Regions from separate parts of the Homo sapiens genome. Here all the other regions are linked to region 4. The links are contacts of gene promoters, found by promoter capture Hi-C in human tissues and cell types (Jung and others, 2019). All regions are on one chromosome and are shown on one strand. Each heading gives the region's core, a stretch centred on a gene start or on the middle of the fragment in contact. The rest is flanking DNA. Distances are from core to core; before and after follow the strand shown.

Region 1 (3,913 bases), core at 173-2,672, 140 kb after region 4:
CTCAGGTTTCTTGGGTTTTGAGCCTCCCACCACCCTGCAGAGCTAACCTGCTGTCCGGGTAGGGGCAGAGCCAGTGAGAGAGCTTAGGACCTGGGCTTAGGATCGCCCATGGTGGGCAGTTCTACGTCCCCGAGACCAGGACCAACCTGGCATGGGTGCTGGAACTGTGGTCTGGGAAGCAGGGGATCCTTCCCTTTTTAGTTCCTTAAAACATGTGAAAGAAGAATCCTCCGAGGCCACAGCCGGTTCTGGGCTTTTTCCCAAGGAGGTGTGTGTCCTGAAGAGCAAAGTCCAGCTGTGAGGGCAGCCCAGGGTCCAGGCGGCAGCAGCCGCGTGTGTGAGACTAGCAGGCCCCTCTCCCTCTCCTTCCCCTCCCCCAAAGCCCCTCAGGAGGTGGAAGGGGTCCCTGTGGAAGGAGCAGGGCCAGACCCTCAAGGAGGAATGAGGGGGGTGGGGCTAGGCCCCTATGAAGGGTGGGGGCTGGATCAGGCCCCTATGAAGGGTAGGGGCTGGATCAGGCCCCTATGAAGGGTGGGGGCTGGATCAGGCCCCTATGAAGGGTGGGGGCTGGATCAGGCCCCTATGAAGGGTGGGGGCTGGATCAGGCCCCCTCCACAATCCGGCCTCAGTGGGAGGCAGACTTCCTTACCGGCCCTCACACCACCCTCAGGTCACCCCATTTCATAGACGAGCAGCCTGGGAACCCACAACGAGGTCCAATTATCCGAAGACTGTTATTATGCTGGGCTGTGGGCTTCACGGGCATTTCCTCATTTGACCCCCAAAAACCTTTGAGGGGCTGCTGTTATCTCAAGTTGGACAGAGTGGCACCTGGGCCCCAAGAGCCTGAGCCACTTGCCTGGGACACATGCGAGTGCCTGTCAGGACAGGATTTTGAGCTCTGGTTACAGCATCCTGCAGAATGTTGGCCTTCTGACCCTTCCTGGACCCCTGGCCCCTCCGTGGGAGGGACTACGCCCTGCTTATCTGTGTCCACAGCTCTGAGCCTCCATACCCAGCATTCAGTTCGAAGCCTTTATCAAGCACCTGCTGTGGTCAAGGCATCGCACTGGTGGGCGTGTCGGGCCAGGTGGTTTCGAGGTTACTGCGATTGTTGTAATTTGTATGTTATTACCCTCGTTGTGCCATCTCATCTTCATGGCATTTCGGTAACACTTATTTAGTGCCTACTGTCTATTGAGTGCCATCCCTGGCTCTGAAGGGAACTGTATCCTGATGTTTACGCTGCGGAGTGATGTGGCGGAGGGAGGCCAGGGAGGGTGTCAGGAGCCTGCCACACTGGGCAGCACCAGGCCTCATTTCTAGGGCAACGCAGGACCTCTGGCTGAAGCAGGGGAGGGATCCAGCCCCTCAGGGGTGTTGTCTTCTGTGTTTTGCTGGGGGGAGTTAAGTCTTCCTCCCTTATCCAGAAGATAGGAGACTCCGGGAGATGCTTCTGTGGACACTGTCCTGAAGGGTCCCTCTCCCTCGCCCACTGGGTTGGGCGCCCAGGCCTCCCCGCCAGCCGGTTAAAACATCTTCCTGCTGGTTTTTTGCAGTCAGAGCCAGCAGCCCATTCTTTTGCTTCTTCTGAAGCAGATGACCAGGAAGTGTCGGAAGAGAATTTTGAGGAGCGGAAGTATCCGGGGGAAGTCACCCTGACCAACTTTAAGCTGAAGTTTCTCTCCAAGGACATAAAGAAGGAGCTGCTCACGTAAGTCCCTGTTTGGCTGGCACAGCTCCTAGGGGACCCTCTGTGGCCTGGGGAGGAACAGGCCCTGGTCCCAACCCATGACGACCGGGTCTGCTCAGGCTTTCCCCGACCTGTCCTGACCACCTCGAGCCAGGCAGCCTGTGACAGGAGCCAGGGTATTCAGAGGTTTCCCAACACCTTTGTGTTGTGCTGGGCTTTACTGCAATCTTCTAAAAGTGATTAAGAACAAAGAAATCCCCTGGCCAAGCTCACCAAGCAGGACAGAGCAGGGCAGGGGCAGAGTGGAGGAGAGCTCCTCAGAGAGCTCTGCAGGAAGCCCTCGGGGCACCCAGAGGCCTGGCCCTCTCCCTGAGGCCGCAGCTGGGCACGTTCTGCCCTGGGCTCCATGGCCAAGGCCTGGAATGTACTGCCTTAGGGCTCACCACCCTCAACTCTGTCAGCCTGGCTGGCCCAGAGGCTGCGTGTCTGAGCTGGTCCGCATGGGGTTGGAACAGACAGAGTTGCTGATGGATATGAATCAGATGTCAATGACCTTCTGGTCAGCCTTCATTGCCAGCCACCTGTCCTAGGGGACTGTGAGAGGCTGTGCCTGGCACCTGCTCCACAGGTGATCCAGCTCTCACATGTGCTCAGAGTACATTTCTGGGGTCCCTCTTCTCCCCAACCTGAACCCCTCTTGTACCCTCACACTTGTAGCTTGCCCTCCTGGGAGTGGCTGGATCCAGGGAAGGCCTTGCTTCAGGGCCTGGAGAAGGGAAGGAGCTCCTCTGCCTAAATATTCGTGGGCACATACACGTGCACACACAGCACATGTGCGTCAGAGGCATCCTAACTTTAAGCTCAACTTTAATTTGGTTACTTTTTCTTCTTGAGTTAAGTTGTGTGGGAGAAACTTCCAGCCTGAGAGGCACCGGCTGTCCTCCAAGGACTGAGTGGAGGAGGGGCCACCGCTTGGCTCGCGGGTGAGCCAGGAGTGGGCACCAGTCTCCCTCGCAGAGCAGGCTCAGCCTGGGGGGCAGGTACACACCACTCTCCGGTCTGACACTCTTTTTCCTTTGTCCAGCTGTCCCACCCCTGGCTGTGACGGCAGCGGCCACATCACCGGGAACTACGCCTCCCACCGCAGGTTTGTCTCCTGCTCGGGTCCGTCTGGCCTGGGTGCTTCGTGGTGGGTCTTCCTCCTCTCCTCCTCCTCTGCTCTCCCTCTTTGGCTTACCCCAATATCCCATCTCTTCTCTTTCAGCCTCTCTGGTTGCCCTCTTGCTGACAAGAGCCTCAGAAACCTCATGGCTGCCCACTCTGCTGACCTCAAGTATGTTTGCGCTCCCTGACCTCCTGTCTCTTGGGCGGCACCCTCGCTTTGCTCTCCTTCCATGAGGCTCCTGCCAAAATCAGCCTTCTCCAAGGTGCCAAGCCTCAGCTGGCCCCAGCTCTCCTGAGATGGGCAGAGGGGCAGGGCCGTGGAGGGGCCGATTCTGCTTGGCTGGGGCTGCTCTGCCTGTGTGCACCTGCTCTGAGCTCTGCTGTTTGCCTCTCCGCTGGGGGCTAGGGGTCGCTGCAGGCTCCTGCGCTGCTCTTGACCCATCCCCCACCCTCCAGCCTCTCCTGAAGATCCCCGACAGGGCTGTCTGGGCCTGCTTTCTTACTGCCCTAGAGATTTGGGAAAAGCCCAGAACCGACCAGGGAACGTAAGCCCTGCCGTGGCTCGGCAGGCCACAGGCTGTGCGGCTCTTGCTAAATGAACTGAACGCTGATAATGAAGAGAAAGCTCCTTCCCCTCCCCTCTCCTGTCACGCTCCAGCTGCTTCTGCCTTGGCCCTGATGCCCTCCCCCCATGCTCATGCCTTCTCTTTGCTGGGCTCACCCGTTTCTGCTTCTGTACCTCCCTGCCCCTACCTAACACATGGGCAGGGCAGGCCCTGCAGGCACCAGCTATAGCTTGCTGGACAGTCCTGCACAACCAGGCGCAAGCACCCAGAGGTTTCCAGGGGTCAGTGTCCTCCTGGGGCTGGAGTCAGGGACTGTTACTGCCTTTGGTTTTCATGCCTCCAGTTGTGCTGTGACTCCTCAGCCTGTGTGACCCTGAGCCATGGGGAGCTCCTCCTGGGCACCGGGGCCGAGCTGAGGCCTTGGAGGAAGGGGGTCCCATTCTTGTCTCCTCAGGTCACCTCTCTCCAGGGGTGTCCCTCCCTCCCATAG
Region 2 (4,207 bases), core at 453-2,952, 180 kb after region 4:
TCCACCAGCATGCCTGGCTAATTTTTGTATTTTTTAGTAGAGACGGGGTTTCACCATGTTGGCCAGGCTGTTCTTGAACTCCTGACCTCAGGTGATCCAACTGCCTCGGCCTCCCAAAGTGCTGGGATTACAGTCATGACCCACCGCACCCGGCCTAAATTTGAATTTCAAATAAACGTCAAATAACTTTTAGTATTGTTGTTTACCTTAATTTCCAATTGAACTGGGATTTTTTTTCCTTCTAAATCTGGCATCTCTGGGTGGGGCAGGGGATGAGGTGGGTGTTGACAAAAGATAATCTATTATTTTCAGAATTCAGAATTTCAAATTGGTATCTGTTTAGAACTTCTATTGTTCTGCTCTTACCTTTAACATAAATCGCTCTTTTTAAACATTTTTAATTATAGTATTGCCTAAGTGTAATCTTGAACATGGGCGGTGCTGTGAGTGCTGGTGAAGACAATGATGAGCTGATAGATAATTTGAAAGAAGCACAGTATATCCGGACTGAGCTGGTAGAGCAGGCTTTCAGAGCTATCGATCGTGCAGACTATTATCTTGAAGAATTTAAAGAAAATGCTTATAAAGACTTGGCATGGAAGCATGGAAACATTCACCTCTCAGCCCCGTGCATCTACTCGGAGGTGATGGAAGCCCTAGATCTGCAGCCTGGACTCTCGTTTCTGAACCTGGGCAGTGGCACTGGGTATCTCAGCTCCATGGTGGGCCTCATTCTAGGTAAGTGTGGAAGGAGAGTCTGAAAACTCATCTGTCTCAGGGAAGGAGGCATCTCCTTTGACAGAAAATGTAGTCTGCTAATGGCCTGCCTGGGTCGAGACCGCAGCCTTCCCAGTAGTTATCTGACATTGACACATCACTGGGTGGTGGATAGAGGGATGAGGGAGGAAGGCCTGCATGCATCTCATGGGCCCCGGATTCTCCAGAGGGACCTCTCCTGTTCTCTGTCCCCTCTTCCTGTGCTGCCACAGCCTGTACTGCGCACCTGCCCTCTGGACAGCGGAGGATAAAGACAGTTGTGTAAATCTTGACCCCACTGTGATTTCTCGATTTAATTTTATCACTCATTCTTCCTTGTCACTCCTTCTCTAAATCGATGGTAATTAACTTGAAAGTCCTTTCGGAGTACTTCTAAGCAGTTTTTGTTTTGTTGGTTTTTTTTTTTTTTTTTTTTTGACAGTTGTGCCCCATCGTCTAGGCTGGAGTGCCGTGACACGAGCAAGGCCCACTGTAGCCTTGACCTCCTGGGATCCAGCAAATCCTCCTGAGTACCTAGGGCCACAGGCACGCACCACCACCCCTGGCTGATGTTTAAATGATTTTTAGAGACGGGGTCTCGCCATGTTTCCCAGGCTGGTCTCAAACTCCTGGGCGCCAGCTCTCCACCTGCCTCAGCCTCCCAAAGTGCTGGGATTACAGGCATGAGCCACCATGCCTGGCCTACTTTTTTGTTTTAATACTAAGAGTAATACCTGTAGATTTTAAAATTAGTTTCAGGGATGGAAGGGATTTCACTATGAAGCTATTTAGCCTATTTTCCAAACAAATGAGTTGTGAGACTGCACATGGAAATATGGCTATTTTTAATAATAGCAGATAACTAAGGAAAAACATCACTTGGTGCCAAATGCTGTGAGGGGCGGGGAAGGCATCTGTTTTTAACTCAGTAGGGTGGAAAAGTTTTGCCGGAGGGGTGATAGGAGCTGATCTGTAAACAGGAAGCAGGGGCCAGGCTGCTGAGGCAAAGCTGGCTGAGAAGACGCTGGATGAAACCAGTGCAGAGAAGCTGGAGTCTGTATTTTTTCTAAATCCTGTTAGAACTGACAGGATTTACGGGTGGACTGTATATGCTTGTGAAAGAAACGTCAGGAATGTGGCTTGGCTTGGTGGTTCATGCCTGTAATCCCAGCCCTTTGGGAAGCCGAGGTCGGAGGATCGCTTGATCGCTTCAAGATTGCAGTGAGCTATGATTGCACCACTGCACTCCAGCCTAGGTGACAGTGAGACTCCGTCTATAATTGATTTTTGTGGATATGGAATGATAATTTTGTTTTTTTTTTCTAAGTCTGTATAAATTGGAATTTGGTGAAGTTTTGAGACCGATTATTTTGGCTTTATGCTATAGATTGCTACCTTCAGGTGTAAAAGTGTGTAGATTTTTATAATGCTTTTTGACCGTAACTTCTCTTCAATTGAGACTGTTGTGATCCCTGTGCTTTGAGAAGAGAACACAGTGCCCAGATTATTTATCATTTTTGAATTTGGGAATTGTGATTTCCTCCAACGTAGCTGAAAAATAGGGGCTATAGCTAAGGTAGAACCTTGGGGAGAAATAGGTGATCAAGCTGACTAGATTAGAAATACTATAGGAAAGAGCCAAAATGCTTAGGAAAAGATGACTTAAAGTAAGCCTGAAATGGTGGGGCGTGGTGGCTCACGCCTGTAATCTCAGCACTTTGGGAGGCCGAGGCAGGCAGATGGCTTGAGGTCTGGAGTTCAAGACCAACCTGGCCAACGTGGTGAAACCCTGTCCCTACCAAAAGTATAAGAAAGTACCTGGGTGTGGTGGTGCACACCTATAATCCCAGCTACTCAGGAGGCTGAGGCTGGAGAATCACTTGAACCTGGGAGGCGAAGGTTACAGTGAGCAGAGATGGTGCCACTGCACTCCAGTCTGGCTAACGGAGCCAGACTCCATCTCAAAAAGAAAAAAAAAAAGTAAGCCTGAAATGGCCTTGCTGTACTTGACATCCCCTAGAAGTTATAAGGAAAGGCCTTCCAACTTGATACAGTTGCTTTTCTTTCCTGAATCCCCTGTTTACTGGAAATTTCATTGGATTTTGGGAGGAGAGAGGTCTGAAGGAAGGAAAGGCCTGTTTTCTGCTGTAATGGATGTAACATGCTGCTTTGATGCAGTTGAAGGAAGTGACTTCAGGGTTTGCTGTCATGGATGCGTGTCTTGGCTGTGTCTCCAGATGCTGCAGCTTTTATTCAAGCTTAATAGCACTTGGTGCAGAGCACTCCAGAGTGAAACCTCATTGGCTTCCCGGCGCCTGTGGATGTGGGTCTCTCATCTGACGGAGTTCTTTACTGTGACCCCCGACTGCCTTTCGCATGGCCTGAGCGGCATCCTGGGTCAGCCCTGTTCCTGTGCTTGCTCTGTGGGCTCCTCTCCCCTTTGCTCAGGGCTGTCCTTACCTTTGTTTGTCATCAACCAGGGGAGAATACAGTAGCTACTAAGAGATGGTGGCTCATAAGTCACCTACCTGAAAAGTGCTGGGTGATTCGGAAGCAGGGCAGACCTAGGAGCGGCTCTGCCAGGGGGGCCTCGCTGCTCTGGTTTCATGCCGTGCTCCAGTGCTGAGTCCCAGGTGCCGTGTTCCTGACACCCCCCGGCCACCCTGTGTCCTCCTCCCCTGCTAGTCATCTTTGTATTAAGCAGGTGGGTCGAGGTATTTGTGTTACTACTGTTTGGTGTTAAGCTTCTTGGGAATAGGAACCATATCTCATATCTGTTACTAGAATTAACTGCTTATTAAGTGTTTGATAGTGAAGGTGAGGGGTCAGTGAAAATAAGATGAGTGGGAAGAATCAAGCGCTATTTTTGGTCTCTGGCAGAGTCGGGAATTGAAGTCGGAGTTGTCAGAAGGTCTTGACGTTCAGAGTAATTCAGGATTTGATGTTGTAAACAGTGAAAAGGGGAACTCTCAGGTAGGGTGTATTTTGACGAGGTAATGTTTTAGCAGCAGCTCTGTGTATGAAATACGTGGAGAGAAAAGAGCAGCAGGTACAGTTGTCCAAATGGGGGCCAGGGAAGCCTTGGCCTGGGCTGGTGGCTGTTGTACTAGGAGGGCCCACACGGTGCAAAGGTGTGGGATGCACAGAAGGTTGCCCATTTCTTAGCATTTCTGTTAGATTGTAGGGTCCAGTGCTACATGATCACTGTAGTAGTATATCTGTCTACCAAGTAAAGTCCTACGTGCCTTGTGATTTTTACATGTAGATTTAAAAAGTTGACGTGTAACTTACCCATAGTAAATGAACAAGTGTGAAGTGTGAATTCTGGTGGACTTTTACATATGCATCCACCGCCATATAAACTCCAGCCACAGCAAGATGCAGAGTTGAATCAGCACCCCAAAAGGCTCCCATGCCCCCTCCTCCTCCTAGAAAGTTCACCAGTGTTGCA
Region 3 (4,131 bases), core at 229-2,728, 160 kb after region 4:
TTGGTCTAATGGAGAGAAAGACATTTTGGTTTTCTTTTTCCATTTTGGGTTCCTTTTGTTTCAGGCACGGATAACAGCAAATGGAATTCTGTATTTATTATTATTTAAGTGTAGCGCAGATGTGTGTGCTTGGGCGTGTTTCTCGTGTCGCGTTTGCGTGTCGGCTCTTGCGGTGGAGTCCTGTTGCTGTGAGGGAGTGCTGGCCGCAGGCAGCCTCGAGTCACCGCCAGGCTCACAGGCTGTGCCACCCGTCCCTCCGACAGCTCCAATACTGTGACCCTCCTTCCTCAGGAAGCGCGTTGAACCCACAGCACTCCGTGGTGTGTTTGCAGGGTGATTTCCTAATAAAAGTCCACTCTGACTGTGAATCGGTGCTGTGGTCTGTGGGGAGGACATTGTCTCCATTCTTGGTGAGCTCTATCATGCACCCTCCTGGGAGCACATGCCCAGGAGGGGAATCTTCCATCTCTGGTCTCCCCTTGATACCACACGTGGGTCCCCTCTGGTGTCAGCTTAGCCAGTATCTCCTTTTGAAACTACCCTACCTCACCGCCTCCACGTGTGTTTCTAGAAGGTGTAAATCATTGTATCTTGCCCCTTCCCACATGACCAGTCATATGCAAATTGAAGTTTTTCCCAGGAGTCTTCTCTTAGGGTCAGGGAGAATAACTTTTCCTGCTGAGGTTGTTAGACTTGGGGGTGTGGAACTGGGGTTGCCCTGGGCTATCTCTCCTGGCCACAGGATGAAGCCATCAGTAGTAGGAGAGAGTTCAGACATTCTGGAGGGGGGCAAAGCTGACAATGGAGGTAGATGTGAAGGAAAAGGGAGCTCTCTGATGATCTTTTTAGAGCTCATGGACCCAGCCATGTCTGAAGGCACTCCACCCTTGAACTGCCCAGTTATATAAGGCAATGGTTTATTTTTTTTTTTAAGCTGGTATACAAGGCCAAAAAGCCAATGCATACCAGCTTTAAAAAAAAAAAGAGACTTCTCCCCTTTTTCATTTTCGTACTTTTGTGTCAGGTGGAGCTCTAGTGCTCCTAGAGTAAGACCTGGACTTGGGACTTCTAGTCACATTCAGCCTAAACTGTCAACATGCTTTTGACCTCCCTGGAATCTGGCCCTGGTGGTAGTCCTGGAGCGTCCATCTGATATGCAAACAAAGGATCCATCTTCACTGACAAATTCTTAGAAATTCTGGACTGAGTTTCCACCCTCTGCTGTAGTCAGACAGGGTCCACAACACCTGTGGAGGACATTTGATCTGCCTTCAAGGCTCCAACTGCTGGTTGTGGGGGCCCAAGCAGGTGCCAGTGCCCACTGGTGGGTTATGCAGAACATGTTCAACTGTGAGGAAGGGTTCCTGGGGGTCCCCTTTGGTGAGGCCCCATTTGTGATGGGGAGACCAGTGGCCTGGAGTTGTACCCCTTCACGTCAGCACAGCAGATGCTGGGGTGGGTGTGAGCAAGACCGATTCTGAAGTGTCCCCTCAGCAAGCTGAGGTAAAGTCATTCTGGGGGGTATGAGAGTTGGCTGGAGAGGTGGGGACTATGATGTTCCTGCTAGGGGACACAGGCTGTTACCATGATGTTAGAAAGCTGCACAATCCCATAGTTTGATAATGGCACGAGCTGGTCACCCCCAAGAAGATTCTCTCACTTTTCGCTTAGAGGCACTGGCTGGGCCACCAGCCTACTGGGAGCTGAGAGAAAGAGCGTCTAAAGTCACAGGCATGTGCTCTCTTAGGATTTATTTTTGGTATGGGACCCCACAGCTAGGCCTTCTCTACCAGCCTGCAGACCCTCCTGTTTACTGTATCCAGAGGATAAAGCTCAAGGTTTCATCCAGAGGGAGGGGAGTGTTTGCCAGGCTCTCAGAGTCGGGGTGGAGTTCTGGGGAAGGGGGCTACTGGCTCCCGAAACACTTTCTACCAGTTGTCTTCTCCCATCTCCAACAGAATCTGGTGCTACCAGTTATTGGGGGTTCTGAGGTATGGACGGTGTTGGCTCTGAACTTTCTACACTCTGGCTAGAATTCAGTGTTTTGTGTCTCCTAGGCCATTTATTTTGCATCTGTGAATTTTCTGGCTTCTAAATTGCATTGTTGTCCCCTCTTTCATCTCCTCACTCCTGCCAATGTATGCCTTAAAATCTGTCATTTTAGGCAGGTGTAAGAGAGAACAAAGGTAAATACACATGTGCACCTGCTTTCCTTACCTGAATGGGTATGCTTCCAGTTGATGAGCACACGACTGTCTCCCTGAACAGACGGGAAGTCAGCTTAGTGCTGGGTCGACATCACCCCATGAGTAAGGGAAGCCTCAAGTTCAGGTGAGATTTTTCCTATTAACCACTCTGTCTCCCTGAAGCCAGTAGCCTCTCAGAGGCTGCTAAAGACATGGATGTGGAGGGTTTCCTAACTGTCAGCTGATTGTGAATCCTGCAACACAGGCCATCCATGCTCCCAGGGGTTATAGCATCTGTGCCATTCCCTCTGTCCTTCTTAAAATATGGAGGTGGAGTGTGGACTTCTCTAATGGAGTCTTAAGTCTTCACAAGGGCACCCTTATCCATGATCGTGGGTGGCCTGGGCTGGTGCCAGGCAGCTGACCTTTGGCAGAGCTATGCTCTGAGCCACTCTGGCCCTCACTGCACCCCAACCCTACCATCCCTCCTGGCTGCTCCCATTGTCTCTGCCTCTCTTTCTTTCCTCTCAGTGTCTGCAGCATGCAGGTCTCCGTGTGTGCTGACTTTTCTAAAGCCTGGCCTCTCCTCTTCCAGCACCTGCTATGGCTGCCTCCTCCTCTCCCTCTACTGTATCTTCCTCCCACCTGCTTATGTGCTCCTGGCCTCTCCTCCTTCCTGATTTCCACCCTACCCTGCAGCTGCCTCAGGGCTGTCCCAGCCTATGTCCCAGCCCCTTTCTTCTCATTCCCAAGGCTGATGTCTGCTGTGTGCAGAGAACTCCCATACTGTCCCCCAATCCTTTCTTCCCTGGCTCTAGTACCTTCTGGGTATGCACTTGGATGCCCCAGAGGCATCAGGACACATGCCTGGGTGACCACAACAGCCTGCTCGCTACGCCCACCTGGTCCTCTCTGGGCCCAGCAAGATACCAACCCCCATCAGCCCCTGGTCTTCACTCACCCAGCTGAAGGTCACATGGCCATACGGGAGTTGCCAACAGGGGCCACAACTGCCTGATGTGCCACATGAATGTGAATGCCCCTGTGGAGCACCCAGCTTGTGCTATGTGCCACCCCATGGGGCCAACCATAGAGCAGCCCTGACTAGGGCAGGTGTATGATGTGGGGGAAGAATGGATGGTTATTTTGGATCCTGGGGAAAGCCACGCAGGGATACGTGCACAACAGCACAGTCTGTGCCCTGCCCAGCATGTGGACACAGTGACTCCCCTGAGCTCCTAGAGAGCCCCTCCCAGTAACTGGCATCACAGTTTCCTGAGCTGTCTACTTGGGCTGATTGTAGCTCCTGAGAACTGGCCACACCCCTGGCAGCCTCGTGAGCCAGTGTAGGTCTTGAGGGGCACATTGGGAGCCCCACGAGGTTGGAGGAAGTGGTACAGTCTCAGCCCTGCAGAGCCATCCCTGAGCACCCACCACTCCCACGGTGAGAAACCTTGCTGGGGGGGCAGGGGGTGCCTGTGAAGCCTTGTCCCCTGACCCACAGGAGCCCAGGGGCAGGAGGGTGAGCAGCAAACTGCAGCCACCACTCCAGCACCCAGCGAACCCTCTTCATGGGACCCATTCATCTCTGCTCATGGGGCACCTTTTGCCAAATTAGACACACTTTTGCCTATTTATTTCATACACTGTCAAAAGTGTTTTCCTTGTCTTTAATTCGGTCACAGCTCTCTCTGTAGAAGTTGTCAAAATAGCAGAAGTCAAATCTGGTAATATTTATGACTAAAGATGGCGAGGAGCCATGTGAGAACCAACCTGCTGCCTAGGAAAGACCAACGAGAAGTGCTGCGGGTTCCACCCCATATCCCCTGGGCCACTGCTTGGGACCCCTGATGGGTGGATAATCTCAGAACCCATCAGGCACCAAATCTAGAAGGGTTCCATTATGGCTGCCCTAACTCCCACCCCACATAGAAGTCCTACTTGG
Region 4 (3,781 bases), core at 202-2,701:
CGTGGCCTTTGAATGCTTGTTTCTGGCTGGTTGGCTTCTCTTGGCCTCCTGGGACGGTGTGTGAATGGCCCTCAGAAGAGACAGTGCTGGAGTTCTGCACTCTTAGGGCCCCCAATACCCCCGAGGCCTGGGCATGCAGAGGCCACTGCCCTGGCCCAAGTCTGGGGCAGGTGCAGCATCCCCTGGGACCTTGGCCCCTCACCACCGGCCCAGTTTCCTCTGAGACTGGGGGTCCCACGGGCTCCTAGCAAGTAGATGAGGAGACCGAAAGTAGCCCTGCAGCTGGGCTTTCTTTCAGGGGTCAAGTTTCTAGGGAAAGGAAGGGGCGTGGCAACCTGAGGTTTGGTAGCTGTACCCAGACGGGGCTGTCTGTGGCTTCCCCAGGCAGCAGTTCTTCCTCCTCTCTGTCCCCACCCAGGGTCCTCCCCCACACTCTAGCACCCCTGAGACTGTCCCCCTGGGCTACCATCTCCACCCCAGCTCTGAACTGGAGGAGGGGACGTGTTTAGGGGTGCAGGGCCGGGGTGCTAGGGGCTGCATTTGCTGCAGAGCAGGGAGCCAGCCCCTTCTTTCCCAGTTGCAGGCCCTGGACCTGGTCACCTGTCCCTGGACCTGGCTTCCTGTACCCTTCTCAGGTCAACTGGGGCAACCCATGTCCCCAGGCTACCCTCCCCCCGTCTCTCCTGGGGGATACAGAGTCTCAACTAGGGTCCTCCTGCTTGTCAACCTGGCATTGGGGACCCCCTTCCCCAGCCTCCCAGGCTTTGGCCCCCAAGTCTGGGATGGGATAGGCTGGATAGGCGGCACGTCTGCTCTCTGGGGATAGAGGATCCCTTGGGAGTGGCTGCCGCTTTGCTCCACAGAAGGAAAAAGAACGTCCCAGAGCCTGCCCAGTCCAAAAAAAGAATAAGAAAATGTGACAATCCCAGAAAAAAATGTCATAACCTTTGGGAGGGGGGTTGAAGAGGGGCTCCATTCTCAGTCCTTAGCTCCTACCCAGGGCCTTTCCCATCTGCCACCCTCCACATCTGGCTGGTGGGCGAGCCCTGGCCTGGCCCCTCCAGGGAAGGCCAGCTCTCCCCACCTCTGAAATGGTGGTGGTGGCCCACCCACCACGCTCCTCTCTCTGCTGTTAGGGTCCAGTCTGGAGAAGCCTGTGTTCTCCTCCAGGTGCCTCTTTCTTCAGCCTCTGACGCCCCCACCCCTACCTCAAAGCTCCCTACTCACCAGCGACCCAAAGGCGGGGTGGGGGCAGGAGGGGCCAGGTTGGGTCTGGGCCCCACCCTGGCTGCCGAAGGGGCGTGCACTGCAGCAGCAGGGACTCAAGTCAGACGGCAGGAGGGACTCCTGCGGCGCTCTGGAGGGAGGCTAGCGCCAGGAGCCCCCGATCGGCTGGGGCCGGGGGCGCAGCGCCTCCCCTACAGCTCGAAGGGCTGAGTGGCTGCCAGATCCAGCGGGGTGGGGGCGGGGGCGGACAGGGTGTCCCGCCCCGGCCCCTCCTCACCGGGCTGAGAGGGGGAGGGAGACGCGGAAACCTGGGTTCTTCCGGCCCCCACCTTTGAGCAATCACTTCCCCAGGCTTTGAGCTCCAGAAAAAGGGGAACCCGGCTGCGGCGCCCCCTCCCCCACGCGCGGGGGGCGGGCTCCACTTCCACTGCGGCCCAGGGTCCACGTGGACCTGGCGGCGGGAGCCCTTGGGGTTCGAGTCCCGTGCGCCGGCTCCCGAAGCTCCCGCCCAGCACGGTCCCCGGGCCCGGGCCGGGAGGGGCAGGGCCGCTGTCCCCGGCGCTGCGCGCGCGCACTCACCAGCCGCGCTCCCGAGCCACTCGCGCCGCCGCCGGCCCGCGCGCTCCAAGGTCCGGCCCGACAGTCGGGGAGGGGGCGCGGGGGCGCAGTGCGCAGGCGCCTCGGCGGCACTTCCCCAAAGCCAGGGGCCGGGACTTCCTCGCGCCGGCGGTCGCCGGGCCCGCCCCGCCCGCCGCGCCCCGCCCCGCGCTCGGCCGGCTCCGCACCCCACCCGCCCCGCCCGCGCGTCGGCCCCCACAGTCGCCTGGGGGTGGCCCGGAGAGTCGAGGTGCTCATAGTGGAGCCCTGGCTCCCGGGCGGACGGAGCCGCACGGTAGTAGATGGGGGTGTGGCCGTGGCCCCCGACTCTGCTCGGCGGGGCCGTTCCTGCTTTGCCATCCGTGTGGGACTTCCACGACAGTGGAGGCACGAGAGCTGGGCCCCATATGCTGCTTGCCCAGCTTGGGAAAGAGGAGGCTGCTGCAAAGGACCGATCGGCGGGTACGCCAGCCCGGCCCACCCCTCGCCTCCGTGAGCCGCGTCTGTAAAACTGGGTTAAGAGCCGCCTGTCTGTGCTGTGGGGGGTTCCCAAGGAAGGGGGAGATTCCTGTGCTGCGGGGCTGGGGAGAACTGGGGGTGCGGGTTCTTGCATCCGGAGTCATGCCGAATGTCTCCTGTGGGGCCTGGCAGAGTCCCTGCTGACCCGTGTGTCCCAAGATGTCCTAAAGCTTAAGGCCACACTGTCCCCTTTGCCACGAACGCCCTGTCCCTTTGGCCGACTCTTCTCATCCTTTATGACTCGGTACAGACGTGGGTTAGGCTTCTCATCGCAGCATGCTTTGGCCCTGTGTCAGGGTGGCCCTGACCCTGCTCTGGAAGTGTCTGCAGAGCATCTGTGCCCCCCGCCCCTCCCCTGGCCCGGCTGTGTGCAGCTCCTGTCCTCCCCAGCACAAGCACTCCACCCGGATAGTTCCCAGTGTCGGGATCTGTTCATAAAATGCCTTCCAGTTGCACAGGTCAGGTGCACACCTTACACCTTCACAGAACTCTGAGGGGTGCAAAGGCAGCTGGAGATTCTACTTGTATTCCTCATTCAACGGACAAGTATCAGTATCTGGGTGCCCCTGTGGGCCAGGCAGTAGGACCAGAAGCCAGCAACATAGATCAGCCTGGATCTTATGCTGGGGGGCGCAGAGTGAGTTGTGGGGAGCAGGCAGGGAAGGCCTGGGTGAGAGGGGGGAGGGCTGAGGAGGGGAGGGTATTGCGCTGCTGAGCGGGGGCGGGGGCCCGAAGGGGGAGGTCAGAGGTCAGAGGGCCCTGGAGGACAGACAGGCTGCCTCTCGAAGCTGTACCCAGAACCCTGTGACTGCCATGTTGTCAGGCCAGGCAAGGAAAGGCAGGGGCCAGGAAGCCCACAGGGACAAGAGGCAGGCTGCTACTTATTCAGCCCACATAACACTCCTGAGCGGTGGGCACAGGTGAGGTCAGGGAAGCTCAACGAAGATGGGCCAGCACCTGGCCCAGGCCACACACAACCAGGCTGACCCCGCTGAGCCGGCCTGTTGTCTCTGCTGTGGGAAAATGCAGCTGTGGGCAGCTGGCAGGGGGTGAAGGTCAGTGCCCTCCCTGCCCCCTCGGGTCACTCTACAACCCCCCAGTCATTCCCCCGTCTCCTCTGGCCCCTTGGGCCTGCTCTCCACCGCCCTGGCTTCTGCCTCTCGGCACACAGCATCCTGAAGTCCATGGGTGGGGCCAGGTGAGCTGGGCAGTTGATGGCGGAGCTGGGATTTGAACCCAGGACCCTCTGCGCCCTGACAGCCCTCAATATATTGGGCTTTGGACCACATGCCTTCCTTCCCATAGAGCTTTCTACAGGCAGGCGTCCCTCCAGGCCCCATTCCCCAGCCTCCTTTGCACATCCAGCACCCCCTGCGCCTTTTCATGGGGATCAAAGGGCCCGAGTGCCGGCCTGACCCTGGTGCAGTCACTGAGGTCA
Region 5 (3,810 bases), core at 575-3,074, 160 kb before region 4:
GACTACAGGCGCCTGCCACCACGTCCAGCTAATTTTTGTATTTTTTAGTTGAGACGGGGTTTCACCATGTTGGCCAGGATGGTCTTGATCTCCTGACCTCGTGATCTGGCCACCTTGGCCTCCCAAAGTGCTGGGATGACAGGTTTGGCCACCGTGCCCGGCCGGCAGTCAGTTTTTACATGGTTCATCACAGATTTTAAATTAAGATTCCCCAGCAGGATAAAAGAAATGCCAGTTGTATTTTATTTTTCGTATTTGTATTTTTAGCAATTTTTTTTTTTTGTATAGAATGAGCCAAGGGCATCTAGAGCAAAGAGGTAGTTCCCTGCCCCGTCTCCATCTCCCTGTCTGCACTGTCTCTCCCAGAGGTGTTTGCTGGTGCCTTCTTTGCAGTTCCCTGTGCTGTGTCATGCCCGTTTGCTGACCCAGCCCCTGCTGTGTCTTCCCCATCCCAGTGTGACTGTCGCTCTTGGTAGTTCCTCCGTGTTTCCTTTGTTTCCTTAGGTGACTTGTCTTTGCCCCACTCCCTGCAGTCCGCAGCACCTGTTGTCTCCTTCCCTCTCCTCCCGCTTCTCCTCAGACGTCATCTGTTCTTTCTAGAGTTGTTCCCCTTGCCCCAGGGTCCAGGGTTCCTAACAGCCTGTTTTTTTTCTTTCTTTTTTTTTTTTTAGTGAGACAGAGTCTCGCTCTGTTGCCCAGGCTGGAGTGCAGTGGTGCGGTCTCAGCTCACTGCAGCCTCTGCCTCCTGGGTTCAAGTGATTCTCCCGCCTCAGTCTTCTGAGTAGCTGGGACTATAGGCGTGCACTACCATACCTGGCTGATTTTTGTATTTTTATTTTTTATTTATTGTTGAGACAGGGTCTCTTTGTTGCCCAAGCTGGAGTGCAGTGGTGCCATCTTGGCTCACTGCAACCTCCACCTCCTGGGTTCAAGTGATTCTCCTGCCTCAGCCTCCCAAGTAGCTTACAGTAGGGATTGCGGGCACCTACGACCACGCCCAGCTAATTTTGTATTTTTAGTACAGATAGGGTTTCACCATGTTGACCACCTGGTCTCAAACTCCTGACCTCAGGGGATCCGCCCACCTTGGCCTCCCAAAGTGCTGGGATTGCAGGCGTGAGCCACCGCGCCAGGCCCTAACAGCCACCTTCTTAGCATCTGTATATTCAGACCGTCCATTGCAGGATGTGTGATCTTTGTGGCCTGGAATGTCTCTCTCTGAGCACTCCATCCTCCCACCCCTCAGGCAGTGTCTCTTGAGGCCACCTGCCCAGCCACCATCTTGGGGGGACCACAGGAGGCTGGGGAGAGAGCGAGGCAGTAGTGAGAAGCCGGGACGCTCACCGTTGGCCGAGTACCTTAGAGCAGCCCTGACGCCTGCTTCTGTCTCTTGGTGAAAGTGGCGCCCAGACTTCAGTCCTTACAGCCCAGAACTCAGAACCGTGGAGGTGCTGTGACCCACAGGGTTTACCTTGTAATTGTTGTTAAAACCCTTCTGGGCTTCATAATGGAATGCTTATGTTGAAATATTATTTTAAGTACTATTATCTATGATGTGGTTAGAAATGCCAAAGAATTTTTAGCTTTTTTGAGACGGAGTCTTGCTCTGTTGCCCAGGCTGGAGTGTAGTGGCGCGATCTCCGCTCACTGCAAGCTCCCCCTCCTGGGTTCACGCGATTCTCCCGCCTCAGTCTTCCGAGTCGCTGGGACTACAGGCGCCTACCACCATACCTGGCTAATTTTTTTTGGTATTTTTTGTAGAGACGGGGTTTCACGACGTTACCCAGGATGGTCTCGATCTCCTGACCTCGTGATCCACCCGCCTCGGCCTCCCAAAGTGCTGGGATTACAGGCATGAACCACCGTGCCCGGCCTTTTTTTTTTTTTTTGGTAGATGGAGTCTCGCTCTGTCGCCCAGGCTGGAGTGTGGTGGCGTGATCTTGGCTCACTGCAGCCTCCACCTCCCTAGTTCAAACGATTCTTCTGCTTCAGCCTGCTGAGTAGCTGGGATTACAGGCACCTGCCACCACGCCCTGCTAATTTCTGTATTTTTAGCAGAGATGGGGTTTCACTGTGTTGCCCAGGCTGGTCTCAAACTCCTGACCTCAGGTGATCTGCCCTCCTCGGCCTACCAAAATGTTGGGATTACAGGTGTGAACCACCACGCCCGGCCAGAGTGTGTAGCTTTTGTAAAAGTTTTGGAAATGGCCTCAGATAATTTCAGAGGTTTTTAAATAAAGAACGCTCAAAATGGAGCAAAATGGAGAGCCCCTGATAGGCCTCCTGCGTGGAGGTTTGCAGTAAGCCAGAGGCACCTGTGGGTCCCAGGGAGAGACGGGCTGCTCCATGGATGCTCCTGGGACCTGGGGCACTGGGTGGGCCTCAGGCAGATAGGAGCTGGTCCGTATCTCTTGCCAAGCCCAGGCCAACTCCTGATGAAGCAGATTCCTGTGGGTGACAAGTGTCAGAAGATAGAATAGGACCTTAGGGTCAGGAAGGATTTCTTGAACAAAAAAGGGGAAAAACAGATTGAGAGATTCAGAAAGCTGTAATATATTCTGTGACCTCAAAGGTGACTTGGAGGAGGGCTGTTGTTCAGCGACGGGCGTGTAGTGAACACTGGGGCATTTAAACGGTTCAGATGCTGAATTTAATGTTATATGTTTTTTACTACAATTGGTAAAAAAAAAAAAAAAAGCTTGTGCTCATCAAAAGACACACCATAATAAGTAAAAAAAGAACTGTGAACTGGAAGATACTTGTAACATTTTTAACCAGTGAAGGGTCGGTGTCCTGGATATGTCCACTGGGCACCACAGACAGAACGGCCTTGAAGGTAGGCTGGAGACGCCTACCCTTATCAGGCCAGGCAAGCACTGGGGAGCCTGGCCGTACCAGTCATTGTTGAGGCTGCAGGAATGGCAGGGAGCCCTAAGTTCCAGTGGCCACTGGTGCAGTCCTCAGAGAGCAGTTGGCACACCGCCTCAGGCTGAGCCTGCCCATTCTTGGGCACCCAGAAGTTCCACTCTTAGGTATACACCAGAAGAATTCTTCCTCGACTGTTTGTGCTGAAGGACAAGGTTTAAGTTTTTAAAATTTCCAGTGTCACAGACTGATGATATTTTTGTAAACTACAACAAAAGTGACTAGCTAGTAAAGGAAATCACAGAACATAAAATACAAACCCATGTCATTATTATTAATATTTTGAGGCAGAGTCTCGCTTTGTCACTCAGACTGGAGGGCAGTGGTGCGATCTCGGCTCACTGCAACCTCTGCCTCCTGGGTTCAAGCGATTTTCCTGCCTCAGCCTCCCAAGTAGCTGGGATTACAGGCGTGCACCACCATGCCTGGCTAATTATGCCTGGCTAATTTTTGTATTTTTAGTAGAGATGGGGTTTTGCCGTGTTGGTCAGGCTGGTCTCAAACTCCTGGCCTCAAGCAATCTGCATTCCTCAGCCTCCAAAAGTGCTAGGATTCCGGGCATGAGCCATCATGCCTGGTTATCGGGGGAACCCGCCCCCAATATTTCAATGTAGGTTCTTTCTATTTTCCATAAGTGTCGGCCAGCTGAGAAATAAAGAGAAAGAGTACAAAGAGAGGAATTTTACAGCTGGGCCCCCCGGGTGACATCACATATCGGTAGGGCCGCGATGCCCGCCTGAGCCACAAAACAAGCAAGTTTTATTAAGGATTTCAGAAGGGGAGGGGGTGCAAGAACAGGGAGTAGGTCACAAGATCACATGCTTCAAAGGGCAAAAAGGAGAACAAAGATCACAAGGCAAAGGGCAAAAGTGGAACTCCTGATAA

Evidence for each region. Contacts are between HindIII fragments. The study calls those that stand out against the background at their distance.
Region 1: a fragment that was not itself captured here is called in contact with the fragment with the promoter of RGS19 in region 4 in 2 of the 25 tissues and cell types used here (IMR-90 fibroblasts and lymphoblastoid cells).
Region 2: a contact is called between a fragment that was not itself captured here and the fragment with the promoter of RGS19 in region 4, in 2 of the 25 tissues and cell types used here (dorsolateral prefrontal cortex and mesendoderm cells).
Region 3: a contact is called between a fragment that was not itself captured here and the fragment with the promoter of RGS19 in region 4, in 1 of the 25 tissues and cell types used here (lymphoblastoid cells).
Region 5: a fragment that was not itself captured here is called in contact with the fragment with the promoter of RGS19 in region 4 in 2 of the 25 tissues and cell types used here (bladder and lymphoblastoid cells).

Annotation. Positions count from the first base shown.
Region 1 is chr20:64,220,334-64,224,246 of GRCh38, forward strand. MYT1 (myelin transcription factor 1) reads left to right here. Exons shown (of 23, transcript NM_004535.3): 14 at 1,560-1,714; 15 at 2,778-2,840; 16 at 2,958-3,026. Among named protein-coding and RNA genes, the nearest start is that of PCMTD2, 33 kb to the right of the region's middle. RefSeq lists an enhancer at 3,205-3,913. The HindIII fragment of the contact is 5,217 bases long and covers 1-3,913 here.
Region 2 is chr20:64,259,535-64,263,741 of GRCh38, forward strand. PCMTD2 (protein-L-isoaspartate (D-aspartate) O-methyltransferase domain containing 2) reads left to right here. Exons shown (of 6, transcript NM_018257.3): 2 at 408-738. The coding sequence starts at 432. Among named protein-coding and RNA genes, the nearest start is that of PCMTD2, 5.9 kb to the left of the region's middle. The HindIII fragment of the contact is 3,110 bases long and covers 148-3,257 here.
Region 3 is chr20:64,241,886-64,246,016 of GRCh38, forward strand. It overlaps MYT1 (myelin transcription factor 1), which reads left to right. Exons shown (of 23, transcript NM_004535.3): 23 at 1-368. Among named protein-coding and RNA genes, the nearest start is that of PCMTD2, 12 kb to the right of the region's middle. RefSeq lists an enhancer at 2,676-3,176. The HindIII fragment of the contact is 9,977 bases long and covers 1-4,131 here.
Region 4 is chr20:64,078,067-64,081,847 of GRCh38, forward strand. It overlaps RGS19 (regulator of G protein signaling 19), which reads right to left and starts at 1,452. Exons shown (of 6, transcript NM_005873.3): 1 at 1,228-1,452. It overlaps OPRL1 (opioid related nociceptin receptor 1), which reads left to right and starts at 2,016. Exons shown (of 5, transcript NM_182647.4): 1 at 2,016-2,286. RefSeq lists silencers at 1,354-2,033, 2,427-2,600. The HindIII fragment of the contact is 4,418 bases long and covers 776-3,781 here.
Region 5 is chr20:63,912,743-63,916,552 of GRCh38, forward strand. The region is part of intron 1 of DNAJC5 (DnaJ heat shock protein family (Hsp40) member C5); the gene reads left to right. Among named protein-coding and RNA genes, the nearest start is that of MIR941-1, 4.8 kb to the right of the region's middle. RefSeq lists an enhancer at 1-35. The HindIII fragment of the contact is 7,543 bases long and covers 1-3,810 here.